Linked DNA regions of Homo sapiens: regions 1 and 3 are each linked to region 2. Evidence: promoter capture Hi-C in 16 types of primary human blood cells and fetal thymus (Javierre and others, 2016). All regions are on one chromosome and are shown on one strand. Each heading gives the region's core, a stretch centred on a gene start or on the middle of the fragment in contact. The rest is flanking DNA. Distances are from core to core; before and after follow the strand shown. Region 1 overlaps R3HDM1 (R3H domain containing 1). Region 2 holds the start of RAB3GAP1 (RAB3 GTPase activating protein catalytic subunit 1). Region 3 overlaps R3HDM1 (R3H domain containing 1).

Region 1 (4,220 bases), core at 720-3,219, 600 kb before region 2:
TGGCGGTGGAGGAGGATGTGGTGGAGGGGCTGCTGTCATGATATAACCAGACTGCTGTGGAGACTGAAGAACCACAGTGGACTGGAACATGGCGGCATGAGGGTCAGAACCATCAGCAGATGGCTGGCGAGCAAGACTCATGTGGCTAAACTGAGACCCTAGGTTATCCTGCTAAAAAAGGAAGAAGTCAAAAATTAGTAAGCCTTCTACACATAGGCCAAACTTATCAAAGAAAAATACTTCCTATTTTTAAATAAGATGCAATAGTACACATTATGGAAATTATATATATCAACAACAGCAATTATGTAATAGGGTAAAGCTTCAAAAAAATGACAACTCTATTGTTGAATATTATAAATTATAAATTATTTAAAAAATATATCTAGTGGGAATGCACAGCATGCAGAAAAGAGTAGGGTACAACATTTCACATTAAAAAATGAAGACATTTATTTAAATGAAGATGAAAGCAACATTAGAATGTAGAAGTGAAATTGGCCAAGTTCATATTATACAATTAATATTTTCTGAAAGGACTTCAAAGACCAAGCAATGAGCAAGGTACTAATTAGTATTTGCTTTAAACTATCTCCCCTCTTCCTAGAAGGCAAAATGCAAATTCTATGCATTTTTGTATCCCTAACCACGAAAATTATTTGCAGAAATTAAATACATAAAATCCACTACAGTCCTTTCTCTAATCTTTCAAAAATAATTTGGCCATACATTCCATTCTTCCCTTGTGTTTTTCAATCTGTTCTGGAAGTCAGATAATTTGACAAATGTAATTCAAATGACAGTTTCCTATGCTTTTACTAAATGGTGCCCTACCAAGACAAGGGTTATGATTTATGTGCTATCTGACAAACATTTCTCTAATTCAACAGGATAAGGACCAGCTCTTATTGTTCCAGAAAAATATCACTGAAATGATTATATAGGGTTAAAATGCTCCCTGTTCCCAAGAAACCACAGACTGGCAATAAAATATACCACATTTTGTTAAAAGGTCAACACTGAAAAAAATGACTTACAAAATTGTGGCAATTGAGTCATCATATCAAAGTTGACATGTCTGCAGTTTCTAGATCTGCTGGATTTTCCAAAGTAAATTACGGCTATGGAGAAGATAAAGGACTGAAAGGAGATGCCTGATTTAATGATTGAAAATATATGGTTTTTCTCTTCCCCAACTGTCACTTTGACACTTTAACACTATTAGCCTAATTCAGTGAATGGTGTCAAAAGGAAAAAAAATGTACCTATGAACTGTAATTTCAATGTTATATGATCAAATATTGTTAACAGAAGTACCATAATTGTATACCACTCTCAGAGTCACCTTGGAAAAAAGTCATTTTCTTATTCCAATAAAAATTGGGGCATACTTTGGATAGAAGAAAGTATCATTACTTTACAGTCACAGATTAAATATCCAGAAATCTTCTTAGAAAATATACTTAGAAGTCCTCTGTAGCTGTAAGCTACAACTCACCCTAAGAACTGGTACTGGGTCTACTGGAGCTACAGTGTTGGGGAGAAAATAGAATGCCTAAACCCAGATGAAAGCTGCCATCCCAGGGCAGCACAGATCCTGCAGTGGCCTCAATGAGAAAGTTGCTAAAACATCTTAGGACTAGAATAATCAACCTGAAAATTCTTTCGTTATGAAAAAGCAGGAAAAGGTTAAACAATCACCATAATAAGCCACTATAACCAATATTTTATGGAATAAATTATTTCTAGTATGAATTAGAAATACTTTGTTTAGATACATATGTAAACCTGACCCAAAAAAAATCACAAAAGATCATATTACATTAATGACACTCTTGAGCATTCATCACACATCCACCCACAGAAACAACGCAGGAGGTGAATAGAGATATAGTACCACAGAGTATTGCTGGGTGGGTGAGACTGGCAGGAACGGGGATGGGTAAGGGGCTGTAGAGTACTGAACAGGCTGTGAAGAGGACTGCAGAGGATGAACAGGCTAAAGAATAACAGGTTGGCAAACAATGTTAATGTCAGAATAAAACGTTAGAAGAATTGCATAAAACGGAAATTTACACTTTTTTGGCAATAGCTTTAACTACATTTATAAAGTCATTTAAAATATAACAACATAGGAAACAACAAAAACAATACAAAGTGAAGCAACTCTAATACAGTAAAACTTTCAAAAACATGTACGCCTGAATTTATTACATAATTAGGAGAATAATTTTTTGCAATAAAATATTTCTTTATTATAGATTAACGGGAACAGGTGACTTAGGCATTTTGAATCCTATTATTTAACAAAGACCCCCGGGTTAAGTCAGTAAAAGCAAAACTACTTCTCATTATTTCCTGGTTTTATGAAAGGGTTGCCCTATTTTGCAGTATAACACTAAATTATAAATGAAAAACTTCATTCTTACTATCAGACAGTAATAACTTACACAATAACTATTCCAATTACCCTACTGATAAGGTGAAATTAAGCAGTCTTTTGGGACCAAAGCCCCTAACTTTTAGCAATTTTATAAGAAAAAAGCTCTGGGTAAAAAAATATATCCCAGCACTTTGGGAGGCCGAGGCGGGCGGATCACGAGGTCAGGAGATTGAGACCATCCTGGCTAACATGGTGAAACCCCGTCTCTACTAAAAAATACAAAAAATTAGCCGGGCATGGTGGCGGGCGCCTGTAGCCCAGCTACTCGGGAGGCTGAGACAGGAGAATGGCGTGAATCCAAGAGGCGGAGCTTGCAGTGAGCCGAGGTCGCGCCACTGCACTCCAGCCTGGGCGCCAGAGGGAGACTCCGTCTAAAAAAAAAAAAAAAAACCCAAATATATATATATGGTGGGAACTATTAAGAATAATAGCCTAAGGAACAACAAACACATATATACATACAGACACATGCACACACACACAAACACCTCTTTTATATAAGGAAGATAAACACTTTCTTTGTAATTAACACATTTCTATTAAGATAGTACATGTTAGGAGCTGAGAAACTAGTTACTTAAAATCTCTGGCCATTAATGAAATACTCCTGAGTTTCAGGAAAAAAAAGGGTTTTATGTTTCCCAGGGGCACTCAAACACAGGTGTTTTTTTTTTTTTTTTTAAAGTTGTAATCACTTTTCAATCTTGGGAATACAGCTGGTCATCCACAAACTAAAATTGCATCTGTTTAATTTTCTCATATTTATACTGTTTATTACAAAAACGGTAATATACATATTGGCTTAAAGACTATAGCAACCCACTTTACAGAAGGCAGTTAGACTAAGGTAAATTAAGTGACTTGTAGACAGCCACATAAGCAAGTAGATGAGGAACCCAGGGAATCTCACTTGATGAAAACTCTTAGTTAAAATGTATATTCATGCATCTCCTTCTGAACAATATCTCTGCATGTTGTCTTCAGAGACAATACTTTAAAAATGTTAGATAAACTAATGGAATTAAGATTGTTCAGGCAATAATTTAAATAGAGAACTTCTATGTCAACTAAGATAGACATTGTTTGTCTATGACATCATAGATAGATAATAATGATTTGAGTTGCACTTTTACCACAAAATCAACACAACGGTTTCTAAAAAACAAAAGCTTAGATAAGCTTAAAAGAAAGCAAAAAAATCTATAATTAAAGCATTAAAAAAATCTTTCAGTAAAAGCTGAAAGATCTATGAAGTAGCCTCTGGTTCCTCACAAAACTCATGGCTAGAAATAAGTGAGCTTCCTAACAGATGATAGTACATATTATACTACATGAGGTGCCATAGCTTTAGAACTCTCAAGAACAAGCTACTTGATGTGTTATTAAGTCAGATAACCATTAAGACATAACTTTCAGATGACTTGATCTCCTATGTGTCAGATGAAACAAAAGTTTTAGTCAGCTGGGGGATTAAGGAAAGTACTATGAGCACCAAGGGTATGAATTAATGTCTTCCCGAATTTCAGAGAGTAATGAAAAAAACTGTGGGCTAGAAGATTGATTGATGAAAGTGAAATTCTGACACCATTTAGGGAAGAAAGAGCCTTAGCACATCCTTTTCCTACTTGAATTGCAACTGGCTGCAAAACAACATCCACCTAAAGTAATTGGTTTTACGTTAGGTCTAAGAAAAGTAGCCCTTCTGAAGGCTTTGGAAATCATAGCATTATTTTGTTTGGTTATTTGCAATCTCATTGATAAATTATTTCAGATTGTG
Region 2 (4,640 bases), core at 1,814-4,313:
ATCAGTACTAGCTAAGAGACTTGGACTTTATCCTACAAGTATTGAGATTTGACTAGAAAAACTAAGTAATTTTTTCCTTAAAAGCTCTCAGGAAATGAAGGGTCATTTCCTGATTCCTTATTCTATATTAGGTCCCTCTGTTATAGGCTCTTATAAGACCAGGTTTCTTTCCCTTTCTAGCTCTTACATAAACTCATAATTACAGACTTGTATTACTTGATTTGTGTCTGTAATGCACTAGACTGCACATTTAGTAAAAGCAGAAACCGTACCTGTTTTACTAACCACCACATCCCTAAATCCGTAATGTGCACTGTGCTTGACATATGGGGATTCAATAAATATTGTCAATGAACAAATGATAAAAAGAGTTATGGGCTTCTATACAGTTCTCTCAATAAATTATCTATATAGTTCATAACATATTGTACTCACAAGATCTTTCATTTAAAATTAAACTCAAGGTTTGAGACTTCAAAGTCTTAACATTTTCTCTCATGAATTGTAAAATGCACACTACAGTGTAAAAGCCAAAAACCAAATTTTCTACTTTGCAATAGTTCTTATAACGGTGTTAATAATTATTTCCATATGCAAAGCTAAAGGACTTAATATTCCACTTCAGGATATTTTTAACTAGGGGAAAGTGATCATTTTTCCATTCAAAACTGATGTTTCCCTACCCCACCCTCCAAGATTTGAATTACATTTTTCTAACTACCTTCAAGACATCAAATTATTTCAAAATCAACAGGTTCAAATCTTCTCACTTTGACACTTCCTTACATTCATTCTTACAGGCAAAAAACTACAGTTCACATTTGATTTTTCCCACTTTTAACGTATCATCAAGTTTATTACCTAAATCTTCTCTGAAATATGTTACAATCCTCCCTTCTAGGTTCCCTTTGTATTCCAGTCCACAAATCACCATCCTAATTATGAATCAAGTTAAGTCTCCCACCATTATTCTACATCATGTCCTAAAACCACTTTCATCATATCACCTGGCCACTCTAAAACGAAGGGTCTCTCACTATTGTCTTAAGCAGTGGTTCTTTCTAAGTGTGGTCTCCTGACCAGCAGCATCTGAATTACCTGAGACCGTGTTACACAAGCAAAATTTTCAGTCCCACCTCAGACCTACAGAATCAGAAACTCTGAGGATGGGGCCCAGCAATCTAAGACTCTGATGTACATTAAAGTATGAGAATCACTGGTCATAGGAATACTGAATCTGGATTCCTGTATTTAGTTTGGGAAGATGTCCATAACCCAATCCCGTCTTCCTTGTTAACCTTATTTATTTCCCTTCAATAGACAGTCTTCACTCTAGTGAAGATATATTTCTTCATTCAGTCCCTTCAAAGATTCATTCTCACCTATGTCTCTACCCATGTCAGTCCATTCTCATGTTTAACCAACCACTTCCCACTTTCAAGGCCCAGCTCATTTCCTATCTTTTCTATGAAAATATCTCCAACTATTGTAGTCCACAATATCACCCCTATTTAAATAATAATTATTTTAATTATTATTTTTACAGGTAGTACCAACTGGCTTACATTTTAACTATTTGCTGTTTGTTGTTTTTTAAAAATATATGGGTCAAGTTTCTGCTTTTCCCTTTGTATATAGCTCTGGACACCCAGTACCTACTCAATGAAGTCTTGCCAGTGTGGTTATGTCTTACTGACACTTTTATGAAGGGTACCACAGGTCTAACTATTATTCCAACAAGGACCTTTTATATTTTCCTGTGCCACCTAATGACACGACATCCACAAATTTCCTCTCCCAACCAGAAAGATTATAAAATGCTGTAACAGCGTAAACACTGACTTCAACACCCAGGAAACTGAAGGGTTTCTGTGACACTTAACAGAAACCTTCTCGATCTAAGCTATCACTCCTCCACAAACTTGGCTTTCAACTAATTTCAGTAATAGAACAGTTTCACCCAGACAGCTGTTCATCTGAATTTGACAGGCACAGGAAGCCTGGGCACAGTACCCACTTTAATGTAACAACTTAAATCAAAGCATTCCAAAACCATATGCAGACTTTTTAAAAAGGTTATTCTAAAAGACAGGATGGGCGGAGGCTCACGCCTGTAATCTCAGCACTTTGGGCGGCCCAGGCTTGAGCCCAGGAGTTCAAGACTAGCCTGGGCAACACAGCGAGATCTTTAAAAAATTAGTTGGGCGTAATAGCGCGTGCCTGTGGTCCCAGCTCCTCCCGAGGCTAAAGCGGGAGCTTCACTTGAGCCTAGGAGTTCGAGGCCGCAGTAAGCTATGACCTCGCCACTGCACTCCGGCCTGGGCGGACAGACTGAGACTCTGTCTCCAAAAATAAATAAAAATAAAAAATTAAAGACAGCATGGAGATGGTGGGAGTGTGACAGATGGACAACTACCAATACTCTGAAGAAAGACTTCCTCCTGAAAAGGGTATACCAACGTACACGGGATGAGGTGCGGCACAACCTACCAAGTTTACTGCTTACGATAATGAGTTAAACGGTAATGAAAACCGGAACGGTTGTTGCAGCCTCGGAAATTTTTCTTGCGAGTGGGTAACAACCAGAAAACCAAAGTCTAAGGGAAGCGGTCTGACAGGAGAGAAAACAAAACTTTCTGAGAGCCTGAGCCTCAGGGATTGGCTGACGGGGGCGGGCCGGGTGTTGCCAGACGCGAGACGCGGAAGAGGCTTGCGGTTGACCAAAGAAGACTGGGGGAGGAGACCCGGGACCCACGGTATTACCGTTCCCGCACAAGTGGCGTCACTTGTGGTGTGTCTGGGGTCAGGGAAGCGGCTAGGGGACGCCAGGGCCCATGGGAGCTGGTAACCAAAAATGCGATTCACTCACCTTTCCCATTCCGAGGCAGTGGTGAAGTCCGTGATCTCAAATACCTCGGATTCGGGCTGCGGGAAGGGGAAGGAGAGAAAAAGAAATTAAGCCCCAAGGCGAAGACATGAGGAACGAATTTAGATAGTGACAAGGATTAAGTAGGGAGCAAAGAAATCACCTCACTGTCGGCAGCCATCTTGAGGAGCGCCGGGCCTGGCGCTAAGGCTGCCGGGAAGAAGAGCGAAAGAGAACGGGGCGCGTCCCCGCCCCCGGAGCCCCCGCCCCCTGTTCATGAGTCTTGCCCTAGTAAGTAGGAGTGCTGCTTCTTCGCCCAGGTCTGTTAAGTCTTTAGTCCGCCCTCAGCTGGTTAATAAAACTCCGCTCTAGCTGGTTTCATAAAACTTGAAAATTTCCTGTGATGAATACAGAAAGGGAACAGAAGCCAAGGTGATAGGACAAGACCCTAAACTCATGTGGATAAGATTGTATTAAAAAACCTAAAGCATGTTGGGTTTGTTTTCATTCAACCCATATTTGTAGTTAGTACCAATTAGCTTACACTTTAACTATTGGGTTTCTTTTCATTCACCCTCTATTTATTGATTGTAAGGCAATAAACTAGGTGCTGTAATACCACTTCTACCCTCTGCCCCTGACCCTGCAAGAAGTTGCTCAGTTGATTGTCCTGAAATAAAATCATACTAGTTACCTGGTTTCTGGGAAGAGCAACATGGTGTTCAACAAACGCTTCATTTTTTTTTTTTTTTTTTTTTTTTTTTTTTTTTTTTTGAGACGGAGTCTTGCTCTGTCGCCCAGGCTGGAGTGCAGTGGCACGATCTTGGCTCACTGCAAGCTCCGCCTCCCGGGTTCACGCCATTCTCCTGCCTCAGCCTCCCGAGTAGCCGGGACCACAGGCGCTCGCCACCACGCCCGGCTAATTTTTTGTATTTTTAGTAGAGATGAGGTTTCATCGTGTTAGCCAGGATGGTCTCGATCTCCTGACCTCATGATCTGCCCACCTCGGTTCTGTCGCCAGGCTGGAGTGCAGTGGCGCGATTTCGGCTCACTGCAATCTCTGCCTCCTGGGTTCAAGTGATTCTCATGCCTCAGCCTCCCGAGTAGCTGGGATTACAGGCATGCGCCACAACACCCAGCTAATTTTTGTATTTTTGGTAGAGATGGGGTTTCACCATGTTGGCCAGGATGGTCCCGATCTCCTGACCTTGTGATCCGCCCCCCTCGGCCTCCCAAAGTGCTGGGATTACAGGTGTGAGCCACTGTGCCTGGCCTTGTCTTTATTTTAACACCTTCAAGTTATTTATATATATTCTGCATCTGAGCTTTATATTGTTTATATATGTAGCAAATACCTTCTCCCACTCTGCAGCTTGCTTTTTCACTATTTTTTTTTCAGACTGGTGCTCTAAAAAAGCAGACACTACAATTCCAAGCTGGCGAAGTCTCTGAAGTCCAACTGGAAGTGCTAGGGCAAAAATTATGCATCAGGAAATGCGTAGCCCCTTGTACTACTGCCTTGCTCCGTCAATCATTGGCCAGGATCTCCCCAAGAAAACAGTGGCCTTGGCTATCACTGTTTGCTCAGTTTTTGGCTGGAGGAAGCACTCCAAGAATAGCAGGTCCTTGGCTCAACAGTTAGACAAACCTGATAAACCCAACAGCCGTAGGCTGTTCATCTAACCACACGCCTTACAGCTGGGCAGTGAGTCTTTCTTTAAGGGAGGTCTGAGCAGCACATCTTTTGTGTCTGCCACTCTCTTTTAATAGACAG
Region 3 (4,602 bases), core at 1,690-4,189, 520 kb before region 2:
CCCTGTAGTTTTCCAGCCATATTACAGGTTGACTATCCCTTATCAAAAATGTTTGGGTTGGGCCGGGCATGTTGGCTCACGCCTGTAAATCCTAGCACTTTGGGAGGCCAGGCGGGTGGATCACCTGAGGTCAGGAGTTCGAGACCAGCCTGGCCAACATGGTGAAACCCTGTCTCTACTGAAAATACAAAAATATCCAGGTGTGGGGACAGGTGCCTGTAATCCCAGCTATTTTGGAGGCTGAGGCAGAAGAATTGCTTGAACCTGGGAGGTCAAGGTTGCAGTGAGCCAAGATTGTGCCATTGCACTCTGGCCAAAACCAAAAAACAGTTTGGGTCGAGGTATTTTGAATTTTTTTGCATTTTGGAATTTCTTCATTATTTTCATTGCACCCTTAATCCAAAATCTGAAGTGCTTCAATAAGCATTTACTTTGTGCATCGTGTGACTGCTTAAAAAGTTTTGAATTTTGGAGCCTTTCAGATTAGGGATGCTCAACCCGTTATCATATAATCTGCAGAGATAGTCTTTCTTCTTTACCCATTCTTATGCCTTAAATCGATGTATCTAACTATATTGGTTAATACCTCCATTATAATGTTGAACAGCAGTGAAGATAGTGCACATTTGCCTTGTTTCTGTATACTGTGGAAATACTTCTAGTATTTCCCATTATATATAAGATTCCTGGCTTTAGGACTAAGATATATAAATTTTATCATTTCAAAAATGTATCCCACAATCCCTATTTGAGAGAGCGGGAGAGAAATATCACAAAATGGGTGGTCTTGTTGAAGGCTCCTTCAGCACCTATGGAGACACTGAGTTTTCCTCACAAATCTATCAATAGGGAGTATGTTAATGAGTATCCTAACATTAAGCCAGCCCTGCATCCCTGAAATAAATCTCACATGGTCATGGTATATCACTTCACAATGATAATATTTAATTTAGCACTTCTGCATCAATATTCTTATGGGATGCTGATTTATAGCTTTCTTTTTTCAATACTGTTCTTACCAGGTTTAAGTATCAATACTATATTTGTTTCACAGAAATTCAGAAGCTTTCCAACATTCCAATGCTCTGGAACAATTTATGCAGCAGTGGAACTATCTGGTCTTTGAAGGTCTGATAGAATTGCTCTGTGAAACCATTCAGGTCTAATGCCTTTTGGTGGGATAGTTTAGAAGAATTATTTCTTTTATGGAAATTAGTCTCTTCAACTTCTCTAACTCCATGTTGGTAATATGCATTTCCCTAGAAAATTACTCATTTCATCTAGGTTTTCAAATAACTGCAGTGAGGTCTGCTAAGTAGTCTCTTGTGATTTTAAAATTTTTTAAAAATTATTTTTAGTGGTTATTTACCGCTTTATCTTATTTTGCATATCTATGTTTTACTCCTTTCCTTTACATGATTAAGTTAGCTAACCGTTTGTCTATTTTATAATTTTAAATTTTCAGAATACAGATTTGTTAGGTCTTGTTTTTCTATTCCCTACCTCATTAATTTCTGCTTTTATCCTTATTATTTCCTTCTGGGTATGCTCTTTAGGTTTACTTTGTTTTCCTAAATTTTGTTTTGAGCTGGAAATTTAATTCATTTATGTTCATTTTTTCAGATAAATGTGTTTACTGCTATAAATTTTTTTATTAAAGCACCATATTACTGGGATGTTTTACAAGATTCCTATTTTAACAGTGCCCTCTTCTGTTAGTATAGCAAAGTCCTGCCAATTATTTGTTTTGTTGTGGGGGGAACAGTTGGCTATGAATCCTGTAACTTTGTGGTTCTCTTTGTTTTGCTGCATTCTGAATTTCCTCCTTTGCTTTATTACCTTTTCACCACTCAACTGCCAAAGGGTGCTTCTCCTCTTCTTATGTACCTTCTTTTTCTCCCCTATAAGCTACGCACTTTGAAGACTGCCTCTTCAGATTGTATGTATTTTTAAGTCCCTCCCTTATAATCCCTACTCTTATTCTATTTGGAAACCTTAAAAAAAAAAAAAAGAATTTTCAGACTTAGGATGGACTTCTTCTGGCTGAACATTTAGATAACGTTAAGATTCCCTCTCCATTTTGTGTTCATTTTTCTTTGCCTGTGCTTGCCACAAAGTCTTGCGGCAGGCAGGAGCTGAATGGGAGTATGAAGAGATCACATGCCAGGATCTGGTGAGTGCTCTCTTTTTAGTTACAGTTATACTGAAGTCTTAAATTCTCTTCAAGTTATGCTATGTCTTCAAATTCTGTATAGATTTTTGTCCTTCTTATTCTATATTTATTTGAAGGAAAATTGGGAGGCAGTAGATCGATGACCACTACTGTCTTTAGCTATTTGGAAGTCCTCCTTGAAAATTTTCTTTTGGTAACAGCTTATCGACATACAAACGACATGTCATATAATTGCCCATTTAAAGTGTATAATTCAATACTTTTTAGTATATTCATAGTTATGTAACAATCACAATCAATTTTAGAATATTTTCATCATCCCATAGAGCAACTGCCCTCTTTAGCTATTGCCTCCTAATTCCTCCATTCCCCATCCAGCCCGAGACAACCACTAATCTACTGTCTCTATAGATTTACCTATTCTAGGCATTTTATATAAATGGTATCATACAATATATGGTCTTTTGTGGCTGATTTCCTTCACTTAGCACAGTGATATCAAGAGTCATCCAAGCTGTAGGATTTATCAGCAATTCATCCTTTACAGTGAAAATAATATTCCATTTCATGGATACACATTTTGTTTATCCATTTGTCAGCTGATAACATTTGTCTTGTTTCCATCTATTGATTATTATAAATATGCTGCTATGAACATTCATGTATTATGCAAATTTTTGTGAGAACACGTTTTCATTTCTCTTGCCTATATATCTGGGTTGACTTGTTGGGTAAAATGACAACCCTGTTTCCCCAGCAATTTGTGTACAATTTAACATTCCCAAGAGCAATGTAGGACGGTTCCAATTTCTCCACATCCTTACCAATTCTTGTGTGTGTTGTTTTATTATAGTCATCCTAGTGGGCATGAAGTTGTATCTCATTGTGGTTTTGATTTCAATTTTGGTTTTGATTTACATTTCCTTGATGGCTAAAATGTTGAGTATCCTTCTATGTGCTTATTGGCCTTATGTGTATCTTCTCTGGAAAAATATCTATTCAGATCATTTGCCCCTTTTAAATTGGGTTATGTGTCTTTACTATTGAGTCATAAGAGCTCCTTATGTATTCTGTATACACGTCCTTTATCATTTTTTAAAATTTTGCAGGCTGGGGCCAGGTGCAGTGGCTCATGCCTGTAATCCCATCACTTTGGGAGGCCAAGGTTGGGTCACTTGAGGTCAGGAGTTTAAGACCAGCCTGGCTAACACGGTGAAACTCTGTCTCTACAAAAACCAAAAAAATTAGCTGGGCGTGGTGGTGTGTGCCTGTAATCCCAGCCACCTGGGAGAAGCCAAGGCAGGAGAATTGCTTGAACCCGGGAGGTGGAGGTTGCAGTGAGCCGAGATGGCACCACTGCACTCCTGGATGACGTGGTGCCTGGATGACGAAGTGAGACACTGTCTCGAAATAAAATAAAATAAAACAAAATAAAATTCTGCAGGCCACATGTAGTGGCTCACACCTATAATTCTAGCATTCTGGGAAGCCAAGGCGGGTAGATCGCTTGAGTCCAGGAGTTCGAGACTAGCCTAGGCAGCATGGTGAAACCCCGTCTCTACAAAACATACAAAAATTAGCCAGTATGGTAGAGTGTGCCTGTAGTCCCAGCTCCGTTGGGGGTTGAGGTGAAAGGATCGCTAGAGCCCCAGGGGTAGAGGCTGCAGTGAGCTGTGATTGTGCCACTGCACTCTGGCCTGGGCAAGAGAGTGAGACCCTGTCTTAAAAAAGTAAATAAAATTAGGCCGGGTGCAGTGGCTCACGTCTGTAATCCTAGCACTTTGGGAGGCTGAGGCGGGCGAACTGCCTGAGCTCAGGAGTTCGAGACCAGTCTGGGCAACGTGGTGAAACCTGGTCTCTACTAAAATACAAAAAATAAGCCGGGTGTGGTGGTGTGCGCATGTAGTCCCAGCTACTCGGGAGGCTGAGGCAGAAGAATTGCTTGAACCGGGGAGGTGGAGGTTGCAATGAGCCGAGATTGTGCCACTGCACTCCAGCCTGGACAACACAGCAAGACTCCAGCTCTAAAAAATAAATAAATGAATAATTAAAAAAAAATAATAAAATAAAATTTTGCTAGTAAACATCCTGTAAATCTTTTATCAGATACATGGTTTGTGAATATTTTTTTCCATCTGTGAAAATATTTCACTTTCTTGATGGCATCCTATAAAATATAAAACTTTTTAATTTGATGAAACCCAATTTATCTGAATCTGACATACTTGAAAAACATTTTTCAACAAACATTTTATATTCCTCATTAACTAAAAAAATATGTCGCAACTCCAGGAATTTCTGGCAGTATAGGCATGTTTTAAAAAACAATGTATAGTTATTTTTGGCCTCAAGAAAAGTAAATAAAAAATGCTAATAAGTATATTGACTTTTCTGAGGGGTCAAAATGCAATTTTTGATCAAGTCATTGC

Evidence for each region. The method cuts DNA at HindIII sites, captures the fragments that hold promoters and counts their contacts. A CHiCAGO score of 5 or more calls a contact.
Region 1: a fragment that was not itself captured here is called in contact with the fragment with the promoter of RAB3GAP1 in region 2 in 4 of 17 cell types (naive CD4 T cells, total CD4 T cells, non-activated CD4 T cells and 1 more); the score reaches 7.2 in naive CD4 T cells.
Region 3: a fragment that was not itself captured here is called in contact with the fragment with the promoter of RAB3GAP1 in region 2 in 1 of 17 cell types (fetal thymus); the score reaches 5.5 in fetal thymus.

What each region holds. Positions count from the first base shown.
Region 1 is chr2:135,647,681-135,651,900 of GRCh38, reverse strand. It overlaps R3HDM1 (R3H domain containing 1), which reads right to left. Exons shown (of 27, transcript NM_001378107.1): 17 at 1,898-1,999; 18 at 1-171. Among named protein-coding and RNA genes, the nearest start is that of MIR128-1, 16 kb to the left of the region's middle. The HindIII fragment of the contact is 3,290 bases long and covers 325-3,614 here.
Region 2 is chr2:135,050,715-135,055,354 of GRCh38, reverse strand. It overlaps RAB3GAP1 (RAB3 GTPase activating protein catalytic subunit 1), which reads right to left and starts at 3,063. Exons shown (of 24, transcript NM_012233.3): 1 at 3,030-3,063; 2 at 2,870-2,925. The coding sequence starts at 3,047. RefSeq lists an enhancer at 2,351-2,490. The HindIII fragment of the contact is 10,130 bases long and covers 1-4,640 here.
Region 3 is chr2:135,570,940-135,575,541 of GRCh38, reverse strand. The region is part of intron 1 of R3HDM1 (R3H domain containing 1); the gene reads right to left. Among named protein-coding and RNA genes, the nearest start is that of R3HDM1, 42 kb to the right of the region's middle. The HindIII fragment of the contact is 3,744 bases long and covers 1,068-4,602 here.